Linked DNA regions of Homo sapiens: all the other regions are linked to region 1. Evidence: promoter capture Hi-C in 16 types of primary human blood cells and fetal thymus (Javierre and others, 2016). All regions are on one chromosome and are shown on one strand. The core of a region is centred on a gene start or on the middle of the fragment in contact, and the rest is flanking DNA. Distances in the headings are between cores, read along the strand shown. Region 1 holds the start of OR51E2 (olfactory receptor family 51 subfamily E member 2). Region 2 overlaps OR51L1 (olfactory receptor family 51 subfamily L member 1). Region 3 holds the start of OR52E2 (olfactory receptor family 52 subfamily E member 2).

Region 1 (4,573 bases), core at 1,589-4,088:
AATGCTTAGTCCACTGTAACACAGCAACACAACACTATGTATTATGTGTTTTAAAAAACATTTGCTGATTTGATAGCCAAGAATATTTTACTGTTTACCGTAGTAAATGTTGACAGTCAATAAATAAGACTTACTTCAAGTTCCTAGTGCAGAGTTTTCCTATGTCCAATTTGGTACTTCCTGTTTGGATTACCAAGTTTCAGAAACATTAATATGAAGTCAAATGACATCACAGACTATGATATGTTTCCTGGACTCAATGGAGTTAATATTAATGTATTAATAAGATGTGTTGCTGTATGATTTCATGGAGGAACATTGAACTCAAATTTTCAGAAAGTTTAGTTAAATTACCAGCTACTGTTCTGCTAGGCTGGCATGAGAATAGGGCAGTGAGAAGAGCCATATTTTGACGTAGTGTGCCAGTGTGTGTATTGGTGCTTTAACCAGTACACACACTAGTTTCATTTTCATGTACTAAGCTCTGGCACAGAATTTACATGGTACCACTATAGTAACTTTATTTTTCTTATAAGAGTAACATTCTTTCAACCATAAGAATAAAAATATGTGACTATTCCCAAATAGTTTCTGAGACTAATGGGAAAAGAGTCACAGCCCTACAATTTGCCCAACTTGGTAGAGAAAGTGTTTTCAAAGGTCTCAAGAAGTTTCCTGTGCGGAAACACAACAATAAAATACCTTTATGTGCAAGGAATAAGCATGCACAAGTGACAACCTGTTAACATTCAGTTTGGCACATCAGCATGCATGCAGGCTTTTGGGTGTAGATGACTCAAATTGAAAGTAGTGGTGAATGGATAGTCATGTGAAGACTGTTTAGAAAATGAGTTTTGAAAACTGAGAGGGTGTCAGATAGCCGAGGCTTTGAATACTACTTGTGCCATTTATAACTGAGAAACTTAGGTAAGTTACTTACACTCTAATTTTTGGTTTAAACATGGTTTAAGACATAAATCAAACTAATAATGGATTCTTCTACTGAATTTATTATTGTAGAGTTGTGTAAGTCAAAAGTTGACATGGATCTCACTGAGCTAAAATCAAGGAATCACCAGGCTGCATTTCTTTATGGAGGGGCTAGGGAAAAATCAATTATCTTCTTTTCTCCTTCTGGAGGCTTTCCACATTCCTTGGCTTGTAGCCTCCTTCTGCCATCTTCAAAGCCAGCAACAGTGGATCAAATCCTTCTCATGCTGCCATCTCTCTGGTTCTCTACTTTTAAAGACCCGTGTGACTATATTGGATCCACCCAGCTAATCCATCTAATCTTGCCATCTCAAGTTATTTAACTTTAATCACATCTGCAAAGTCCCTTTGCAATGTAAGGTGACATATTCACAGGTTCCAGGCATTAAGACATAGGTATCTTTAGGGGCCATTATCCTGTCTACCACAAACACTTGGCCTAGTATCATGGATGTAGAATGCATAATAAAATATTATTGTTCTTGTTATTTATTGTTTTTATTACATTATGAAGAAGAAAATATCTCAGGCCATGACATTTTCAGTAGTGAAACAGATTTGATAGTGGAGAGGAGATAATATCGGAAGCAGGGAGAATGGTTAGGAAACTACTGAAGTTACCCAAGTGAGAGATAATTGTGACTTAAATAAAGGTGACATTTCTGGAGATGATAAACAGTGATCAATTTCTGATTGTATTTTTCAAAGAGATTGACATAATTTACCAATGGATTAAATGCAGGGTGTAAGAGACAGAAACTGAGAATGAATCAAAGACCCATATGCCCAAGTGTGGTCCAAATTGGTGGGAATATCTAAGGATCTAAAGAGGCCATAAGGAGAAAAGATGGACAACTTATAGCAATCTATGCATTCTATTTATTAAAGACTAATGAGAGTGATAGTAAACTGACAGAAGGTGACATCATTGGCCAAGTCAATCACCCACCTACCTGCAATTTTTCTTGGTATAATACAAGATTTTCAAAATTTGACTATAAGTAGAGAGAACCCCAAATTATTGTGACTAATTCTCTTCAACCTGGTAGGTTGGGACTTCAAAATACGAAATAGGTCAAATTATAAAAAAGTAAATGAAACCGTATTTTATACACAAGTAAGTTGTGAACCAAGATTTTTACCTACTGTATTCACCAAGCATTTGGTTCATGCCTCTAGGATAACCTTATCATTGGTTAACATGTAATTATTGGTTAACCTGTCTATCTTCTACACTAAAATCCTAAACAGTAAGAATTATGGTGTATTCTTAAAAAAAAAAACTCTATCACTGAGTATAATGTTTAGAATATGGGACATTCTTATGAAATATTTACTGGATATATGTATGGATGAGTAAATGAATTATTTTTTATCTGTAAGAGAAAGACTGCTGCTGCAAAGAACCACAGGTGGGCTAATGAAACCATACTGCTGTGAATAATCATAGATACTGAGGAGTTAAGGGGTGGAGTTGGACTCTCACTCATAATGGGAGATGTCATTTAGCAATTTGCTACAATATTTCGTTTTTTAAAATCTCCTTCAGAGTGACTGCTAGTGATTATGAGGTTCCTTTTAAGGGTAATAAAAAATGTTCTAAAATTGAATTGTGATGATGGTTCTTGCACAGTTCTGTGACTTTACTAAAAAAAATTGAATCATACACTATAAATGGGTGAATTTTATAGTATGTGAATGATATAACAATAAAGCTGTTAAATAAAAAAGCTTTTGAGTGAAATGACACATGAAAAAAAGGTTACATCAGCCCATAAAGCACATAGCCACCGTAAGTAATTGCATAATGGAACAGATATAAAAGGACTGTATGAGGCAAAAGAAGTCTTCTGGGAATCTCCACACCCTGAAGACACAGTGAGTTAGCACCACCACCAGGAATTGGCCTTTCAGCTCTGTGCCTGTCTCCAGTCAGGCTGGAATAAGTCTCCTCATATTTGCAAGCTCGGCCCTCCCCTGGAATCTAAAGCCTCCTCAGCCTTCTGAGTCAGCCTGAAAGGAACAGGCCGAACTGCTGTATGGGCTCTGTAAGTAAAACTGTTTTGTTCAATGAAAATGCTTGACTCTAGATGAATTGGACTTTCTCACCCACAGGGAGTAATTTCCTCACAATGTGCAGAATTAGATTAGATGTTGGTATGGTGGGCTGAGGAGGACGGTAGAATTTCAGAATTATTTATTCCCAGGAAATACGTAGAGAATGGGTATTTCGTTCTGCCTGATATAGGTTAGATAACTTGTTTTTAGTCAAATGGTTTAATCAGTGTGCTGATATATTTATCACAGTCAGTGAATCTCATTTCTATGCCCAATAACTATTACTAAAAATGAAAAGTTACCAATTTCGAACGCATTGCCTGCCAGCTACTGGTATTAGACACAGCGCATATCCTGTCTTATAGATGAGGAAACTGGGTCACAGAAAGTTTATATTACTTGTAGATTTCAGTAAAACAATTGTTTTTGAGAGCACGAGCTTTGGAATTAAAAAGACCTGAGTTAAAAATTCAGCTCTGACTTTCACCAGTTGTATGTGATTTCAAATATGTTTCAGACTTCTGATACTCAGTGTCTTTACCAGAAAAATGAATTTAAAGTGAATCTAATAATACTTGTCACATGATGACATAGTAAGAATTAAAATAATGCTTATAAAGCACTGAGGACAATAATGTTCACAGAACACGTGTCCAGTAAATGGTAGCTATTTCTATGAGTAATATTTTTATTAATGGTGTAGATGGTCTCAAAACTAGTTAGTGTTTGAGCAAGAATCTGAACCCAGGTCAGTCACACATGATAGCCATACCATTGACAATAGCATGGAGAATACTGATGACACTATAAGGTCTAGTTCAGCAGATTAAGACAGCCACAAGCTATAGCTTATAATAGTGCAATGAAAGAGGAGCATCATTGTAATCCGAGTGGGCAGAAAAATTAGTTGAGAGAATATAGCTTATTTCACAAGAGAGAAAATGAAAGTATATATGGATTGGAGAGGATGGGTCGGAAAGATTCTAGAGTGAAGGCAGCACAAAAGAGAAGCTTGGGGGAAATTTAGTGCCTCCTTCTAAGGATATTCATTAGTCCCCCTCTTGTCTTGAATATAAACACTTAAGATTTTTTCAATGTAAGAAAAATGCAATGAAATAATAGCTGCAAATACCCACTACTAACAATTGCTTGGCCTTCTTATATAGACCTCCCGAGGTTCTCATCTTTTACATTTCAGGAGTAGAATCAGTTAAAAACTAATCTTTATATGTAAGGGATGAGAGAGAGAAAGAGGAGGGTATGTGTGTGCACACATGTGTGTGTGTGTGGTGGGTAGTAATTTTAATTCAATGATTTACTAGAGTTCGATGTCGTTTGCTGATAAATGAAGCAGGAGGAAGAGCCAGGTTTGGAGGGGACGAGAGAATGAGTTCCATTTGTCTCATATAGAAGTTGAAGTAACTGAGTGATGATGGGTAGAGATGTCCCTCAGGGGTAGCCACAGTATTTTATTTACTTTTTATTCACCACATGCAGCAAGGAGCTTTGTTCTCCAAAATGCTGT
Region 2 (3,881 bases), core at 949-3,448, 300 kb before region 1:
ACACTGTTGGTGAGGATGGTGGGGTAGTGCAGTGGATGGCAGATAGCAACAAAACGGTCAAAGGCCATGGCCAGCAACACTGAGGACTCCAGGAATGTGAATGTGTGGATGAAGAACAGCTGAGCATAGCAAGCACTTGCCTGGATCTCTGGAGCATCCAACCATAACACAGCAAGCATGGTGGGAAGTGTAGACAGGGACATCCCCAGGTCATTCACTGCTAAGATGGAAATAAAGTAATACATGGGCTGATGGAGAGAGGATTCTATCCAAATGACAGACAGGATGGTAACATTACCCATAAATGCTACCAAATATGCAAGACAGAAGAGGATGGAGAGCCAAGAATGAACATACTCCAGTCCAGGAAAACCCCTCAGGATAAATATGGGCTCCACAGCATCACTGTTATTCCAGTCTCCCATAGTGACTTTGAGTAATTCAGCAAGTAGTGAGGAATGGTTCGTGTTTTCCTTCCTGATCCCTCAAAGTTATCTCTTTTGAGTACAAATAATGGAATGAGGACAAAAATACATCTTTCGTCTAACCTCACAGAGGAAGGAAGCTGGTATCTCTTGTCGGCCCTATGTAAAAAACATTTCCCAATATTAAGGAGCACAAATTCTGGAACAAAAATGTGGACTACACAAATATGGTCATCTCTGGCAAGAAATACGTTGGATTTGCATCAAAGACACTAAAGAATTTAAGCAACGTGAGAATAGAGAAAAAAGAACTTTTACTAATTATTATAAAGATGAAAATAGAGAAAAGTCAGAGTGAATGTCGATGGATTTGTATGAGTTTCTGGCCAATGTTCTTGAGTTAATCAGTTATTGCTTCTAGGCTATCTTTTCATTCATGACAATCGAATTGATCCCATGGACTCAACATAATTTCTATTCAGCTGCATTTTTATTTAAAGATTTATAATATTTAAACATTTTAAATATTTAATATTTTAATAATACAAGATAAATACCCCTATATGAAAAGAGAGCATGAACATAAGAAACAGAATCCATAATACCAGAATCCATAATCCCAGCATGCTTTATTGAGCTGCTATTTAACCAACACAGTTTTGAGCTGTTTAGTATAGCAACTATTCCTGACCTAAAAAAAAATTCACGGTAAAAAAACTATATATATAGTGTGTGAGTGTATATGCGTGTGTGTGTGTGTGTGTGTGTGTGTGTGTGTGTGTGTGTGTTTGTGAAATAAGAGTTTAAATAGTTTGAAAATAAATCTTTAGGCCATAACATCACAATATAACTACGAAAGTCCATTAAAGACATTTCCCTTTCTGCTCTTCCACAAAATGAGAACAATGCATTTAACAGTTATCTATTACATGTTTTCAGTAAAAGAGGTACTTTTCCACTTTATTTCTATTGATTTTTTTGATTGATTGATTTCTGTTTCCAAACGATGCTTTTAATATCATTTTTAAAAGATCATCAATCAAAATATTAAGTGGTTCTTAATTTTCTGACCCACTTGCACCTACTTCTGTGAACTCATGACAATCCAGAATTTAGGCCTTAAATATTCACTATCAGTGCCTCTTAGAAACAACCAAGCTCTTCTGAGTGTTTCAAAATATGATATTAACATCTGGCTTTACTTTCCCTCAGCAATTGTTATTGTAATAGCCTCCTTGCCTGTGCTGAACCAGTGTTGCCCTTGCTGTATCATACTGTGTTGATGGCACTTGGTACAGCAGCTGAGCATTATGAGATTATCTGCCCCTTCTGTTACCTAGGTCTTTATTTTAACCCTGTCTAGTTCCATTAACTGCCCCTGAGAAAATTATTTACTTACCTTGTCCCTTAGAGTCTGGGCCTCATAGACTTCAGCAACATCTCTCTGTAGCAACATCTCAGTAATTCCCTCAACCCTCCTTCTGGACCCTTAGTCTCTGACCTTTTGAAAGATTAAGATAAGACTTAGCCTCATCCTAGAGTAAAAATATTTCCAAATGTGGTCTCAAACTCGTATCACAAGGCTCCAGCTAGCTAGCTGTTTCTTTTTATTATCTCCATTATATTTAATAAAAAGCTTTATTTTAAAAATCCCTTGACTGATTCTTATCTCACTTTCATACCGTGAAGACTGAAAGTTCTTAGATGGCACAACTTAGAATTCCAAAGAGGACTTGATTTAGAATCTGTATCTGAGGAACAAAAGAAAGCACAAAGCCCTCTTCTCCATGTAATGAGAAGGATTTGTCTCTTTTTCTACTTTTACCCAAGTACAGGAATCCTCCATCTTCTATGAGTCAGAACCTAACCTGGTACTCTTCTCTAGCCTAGGCAATGTGAATGAAGCTTTCATTTGAGACCCTCGTCTTAAATAAAGCAGTCAGCTACCCATCAAATTCTTCACACCCAGCAGAGTATGTGTTTAGAGCATTTATTTTTCTTCACCCCTAAGCAACATTTTTCTCTCCAGTCTTCCATATCACTAGCTGACTTTATTTTTTCTTTCTCCTCACTCAGAAAAATTTTTTGACCTCCTGTTGTACAGTTGAGCTCATAAAAATGATATAGGTATTAACATCGAAATAAAAAGAACACACACACACACAGAGTGAGAGAGAGGGAGGAGAGAAAGAAAGAAACAGAGAGAGAGAAATGAAAGAAAGAAAGAAAGAAAGAAAGAAAGAAAGAAAGAAAGAAAGAAAAGAAAAGAAAGGAAGGAAGGAAAAGAAAGAAAAAGAAAGAAAGAGAAAAAAAGAAAAAGAAAAGAAAACTGTGGCCACAGTGGAGAAGTAGTTTATTTTACCCCATGCCAGAAAAATATTCCATGTTTTCTCCTTTAATTCTTTCAGTCCTGAAATAAATCATATTTTCTTAAATTCTCACATAGAATGCAAAGAACAAAGTGGATCACTACTCTTTAGAATTCTCTTTCTCCCTGCTTTATGTGCAAGTCCCCTATGTGCAGATTGCGATGTTTAGAAAACTTCAGTTGTAGACTGGCCAATAGATTTGAGGTTAGGACAGGCAGGAATATTTCTGTTTGTAATCCCTATTAATTTTTAACTGTGTATATTTAAGGTATACAGAATGATGTTTATATATATATATGCATATACATAGACATATACATAGTGAAATGGTCATTACTATGTGCCTGTGTGTGTGTGTGTGCATGCACACACGTGCATGTGTATGCTAAGAACACCTAAGCTCTACTCTCTTGGCAAATTTTCGGTATACAATTTCTGTGGTTTTAATTCTTGCTCATATTGGTTTATCCCTCACTTAAAAAGAGTCCCCATTTCTACAATATTATTAACTCACTGCTTTATCTCATTGATTTATCCCTCACCTGAAAAGAGTTCCCATTCTACAATATTATGAACTGTGGTCATGCTGTATATTAGATCTCTAGACTTATTCTTCCTACATAACTGCAAGTTTGTATGCTTTGAGCTACTTTTCCGCATTTCCTCCACTACCCGGGCCCCCTAAGCCCCTTTCCCGTTTCTATTTCTGTGTGTACTTTCCCTTTCTTATCCTCTCACTGCCATATCTGTCATGTCTTTCACTTTTTAAAATCCATTTATTGTCTTTTCTCTATTCATTTTCTTTTGACTCTATTTCTGGGTCACTGACAATGATTCTTTGTGGTTCTTTGTTGATTTTAGTACAACTTAATCACACTGAGGTCGAAAGAGAAATAATAGAAAAGAACTGGGAGTAATAACAAGACTGTTTCAAAGGGCAGAGGCATGAATAGGCTTATGTCACACATTCACCTATTCCAGGTAATTAAGGGAGAACTACTGAACATAAGACCATTTTTTTACAGCCTCTCTAGTATCAAAACCTATTCTCTGCTAATCAGCTTATCGCTTATCTTAAAATCGCTGA
Region 3 (4,111 bases), core at 844-3,343, 360 kb before region 1:
AAAAAAAACTCTCTTAAAAGAGGAGTTATTTTATTTCACTAACAAATTAGCTTAGTGATTTTACAGTTGTGTTTTCATTCAGAATAGATTTTAACACATAAAGAATGTTTGATGTGACATGATAGACAGGATTGGTGGCACTTATTTATCACCAAAATATTGTTGTGCCAGATATTTCTATTTTTGTATCTTCTGAAAACCATTAGTTATATTTTATGGAGTTCTGTGTATTCAAAAACATGATGCCTGTAATTTTGTTCATTTACATATTTCTCAAGAAGATGGCTATTTTATGTACACAGACAATTTTTTTCTTGTAGTCATTTATTCTTTATTTTACCTGTTAAACATCCCACATTTTATAAAATGGGGTATAGACTTACATAGCATATCATTTACATACTTATCACTATCATTAATTTGGGTAGTAATCCCAATAATTTACATGGCATTTCTTTCAAACTGCCAGGGTTTGTTAACCTCTCTAATCTTGAGTAAGGCATTTTTCTATGGAACAGTAAAAGCTTTCCATGGTCAGAAATGCTCTGAAAATACTCCCCCATCAAATATTACAAGCAAGGTGCATGAAGACAGATTAGATGAATTTAGGTAACTTTGAAATGATTGAGACTGGGTGCAGTGGCTCACTCCTGTAATCCCGGCATTTTGGGAGGCAGAGGTGGTCAGATCACTTGAGGCCAGGAGTTCAAGACCAGCCTGGACAACATGGAGAAACCCCGTCTCTACTAAAGATATAAAAAATTAGCCAGGTATGATGGCCCGTGCATGTAATCTCAGTTTCTCTGGAGGCTGAGGCAGGAGAATCCCTTGAACCTGGGAGGCAGAGGTTGCAGTGAGCTGAGATTGTGCCACTGCACTCCAATCAGGGTGACAAAGTGTGACTCTGTCTCAAATAATAAAATATAAATAAATAAATAACATGATTGCATTATCATAAATCTAATATTATAAGGCTCCTGTTTTTTCTCACTAGTTTTTAATTAAACATTTGACATATATCTTAAATTCCTGAAGTCATGATTGCCTCAGCTTTGAGCTAGAGATACTAACGTGTTATTCAGATGGATGTTGTGAGTTTTGAAAAAAATATGTATTTGTCTAACCTGTGTGTAATATTATGCATGTGTGTGTGTATTTTATCCGGTGTGAATAACACAGATAAGTCATACATTACACTTTTGTTTCCTTCTATTTTCCTTCTATGTAAATTCACTACTTTTATCCCTAGCTTAATTTCCCAGATCATCCATTAGAAGCATTTTAAACATCTGACAAGCCTCTTAAACTCATTGATCGCTTACATGGAAAATATGAAAAATTAATATTCTCCTTGAAGGGTGTTCTTTTTATAAATTGGAGATGATTTGCACATAACAAAGCTTTGCAAATAGTAGGCAGTACTTCAATAATTGGTAGTTGATGCGACTGTTTTCACTGTTATTCTGTATTTTATTTTACAGTAATAATGAGTAAATATTTTTAAATGGACAGTTTTAAACCTTTAAGTGATTTTTAGTATATTTTGGCATAAATTTTGATCAGTCTGTGTGTTTATTGAATAGAGTGTACCCACCCTCTGTGTTAATCCATATGTGTTATCATTCAATCAACTGGAATTAATTTCCACCACTACATTTAAGGGCTAGGAAAACCCTACCTTGTTCAAAATTCAAAGGGGTTCTTTGGTGATGATGGTAATAATGAGAGAGAATAGCTAAAGTAAAAAGTATTCAGGCAAATCTTAGCATAATATTGGCAGTGAGGTTATATTGATAGGGTTTAGGTAGAGTAGAATGCTAGCAAAGTTGAAAGTATCACGTAGAACATTTTATTTTAATTTACTGTATAAATTCATCTAAGAATTTATCCCTGAGATGTTTGTTACTTACCTAAAGTGCTCTGTATACAGTATGTTTCAAAGTGATAGAATTTCCTGCAAAAAATCATGTGCACAAATGTATGTTTCTTATATTAAATTTTTGTCTCCGAACTGCAGAAGCCTGTGTGGTTACATGCAGATTGGGTGAGCATACATTTCTGTAGACTGTGGACTTATGCATTCACAAGCAGGATGTTCCTTCCCAATGACACCCAGTTTCACCCCTCCTCCTTCCTGTTGCTGGGGATCCCAGGACTAGAAACACTTCACATCTGGATCGGCTTTCCCTTCTGTGCTGTGTACATGATCGCACTCATAGGGAACTTCACTATTCTACTTGTGATCAAGACTGACAGCAGCCTACACCAGCCCATGTTCTACTTCCTGGCCATGTTGGCCACCACTGATGTGGGTCTCTCAACAGCTACCATCCCTAAGATGCTTGGAATCTTCTGGATCAACCTCAGAGGGATCATCTTTGAAGCCTGCCTCACCCAGATGTTTTTTATCCACAACTTCACACTTATGGAGTCAGCAGTCCTTGTGGCAATGGCTTATGACAGCTATGTGGCCATCTGCAATCCACTCCAATATAGCGCCATCCTCACCAACAAGGTTGTTTCTGTGATTGGTCTTGGTGTGTTTGTGAGGGCTTTAATTTTCGTCATTCCCTCTATACTTCTTATATTGCGGTTGCCCTTCTGTGGGAATCATGTAATTCCCCACACCTACTGTGAGCACATGGGTCTTGCTCATCTATCTTGTGCCAGCATCAAAATCAATATTATTTATGGTTTATGTGCCATTTGTAATCTAGTGTTTGACATCACAGTCATTGCCCTTTCTTATGTGCATATTCTTTGTGCTGTTTTCCGTCTTCCTACTCATGAAGCCCGACTCAAGTCCCTCAGCACATGTGGTTCACATGTGTGTGTAATCCTTGCCTTCTATACACCAGCCCTCTTTTCCTTTATGACTCATCGCTTTGGCCGAAATGTGCCCCGCTATATCCATATACTCCTAGCCAATCTCTATGTTGTGGTGCCACCAATGCTCAATCCTGTCATATATGGAGTCAGAACCAAGCAGATCTATAAATGTGTGAAGAAAATATTATTGCAGGAACAAGGAATGGAAAAGGAAGAGTACCTAATACATACGAGGTTCTGAATGCAATTTTATGAAATTTCAGTGAGAGAAATGTCTTGTCATAAAAATTATATTCTAATATGTGGCTTTATTGGCTCTCTTCTGTATTTAAATACATTGAATTTCTCCATCTGCTTTTCATACCACATTTTGAGATCTGTTGCTGCATTTTTTTTTTTTTTTTTTGAGACAGAGTCTTGCTCTGTTGCCCAGGCTGGAGAGCAGTGGCATGATCTCAGCTCACTGTAACCTCTGTCCCTGGGGTTCAAGTGATTCTCCTGCCTCAGCCTGCCAAGTAGCTGAGACTATGGGCATGCACCACCATGGCCTGGCTAATTTTTGTTTTTTAGTAGAGATGGGGTTTTACCATATTGCTGCATTCTTGTTCTCTCTATTCAATACTCTTATAATTTCATTTAAGCAGGTAATGTTATTTTTCTCTATTATTTGGAATAGCTGGTTGAAGTGTTTATATCAGATATGAATGCACCCATTTTTGCTGGGTAATTGATGTTTCATGGAGCTGCTTCTTACAATACAATTATAATAATTTTCTGAGTGTCAACTTTTATAACTGTAGGATGCTGGAGATAAAATTTTGACTATGTCACCTTCCCTTACTTTGTGGAATTTATAGAGTCTAAAATTAATGAGCAACTTCAACTTTGAAATGTCCATACTTTTTGTTTTAATTGTTCTATATCATTATAATTTATGTTTATCTTCCCTTAAGAGACACAGCGATTTAATGGTAATGGGGTATCCTAAATGGGATGCTGGATTAGAAAAAGGACATTGGCTAAAAAGTAAGAAAATCTTAATAAAGTATGAGCTTTAGCAATAAATATGTATCAATTACCTGCTTCATTAATTTTGGAAAATAGACTACACTAATATAAGATGTTTACAATAAGGGGAATTAAATGTGGGATATATGGGAACTATCTGCAATATCCTCACGAATTACTGTTATATCTAAAATTATTCTAAAACAAAAGAGGTATTTTTCAAAATCACAATGAATAAATAGGTCCTTTGGGGAAGAACCTATTTTTAAAAAGT

What was found. The method cuts DNA at HindIII sites, captures the fragments that hold promoters and counts their contacts. A CHiCAGO score of 5 or more calls a contact.
Region 2: a fragment that was not itself captured here is called in contact with the fragment with the promoter of OR51E2 in region 1 in 2 of 17 cell types (megakaryocytes and erythroblasts); the score reaches 7.2 in megakaryocytes.
Region 3: a contact is called between the fragment with the promoter of OR52E2 here and the fragment with the promoter of OR51E2 in region 1, in 4 of 17 cell types (endothelial precursors, M1 macrophages, M2 macrophages and 1 more). The highest score is 5.6, in endothelial precursors.

Annotation. Positions count from the first base shown.
Region 1 is chr11:4,696,118-4,700,690 of GRCh38, reverse strand. OR51E2 (olfactory receptor family 51 subfamily E member 2) reads left to right here and starts at 2,838. Exons shown (of 2, transcript NM_030774.4): 1 at 2,838-3,038. It overlaps OR51C1 (olfactory receptor family 51 subfamily C member 1), which reads left to right and starts at 2,838. Exons shown (of 2, transcript NM_001396051.1): 1 at 2,838-3,038. The coding sequence starts at 3,030. The HindIII fragment of the contact is 1,338 bases long and covers 2,724-4,061 here.
Region 2 is chr11:4,995,527-4,999,407 of GRCh38, reverse strand. OR51L1 (olfactory receptor family 51 subfamily L member 1) reads right to left here. Exons shown (of 3, transcript NM_001004755.2): 2 at 1,825-1,926; 3 at 1-584. The coding sequence starts at 425. Among named protein-coding and RNA genes, the nearest start is that of OR51L1, 2.6 kb to the right of the region's middle. The HindIII fragment of the contact is 269 bases long and covers 2,064-2,332 here.
Region 3 is chr11:5,057,609-5,061,719 of GRCh38, reverse strand. It overlaps OR52E2 (olfactory receptor family 52 subfamily E member 2), which reads left to right and starts at 2,093. Exons shown (of 1, transcript NM_001005164.2): 1 at 2,093-3,070. The coding sequence starts at 2,093. The coding sequence ends at 3,070. The HindIII fragment of the contact is 5,080 bases long and covers 1,403-4,111 here.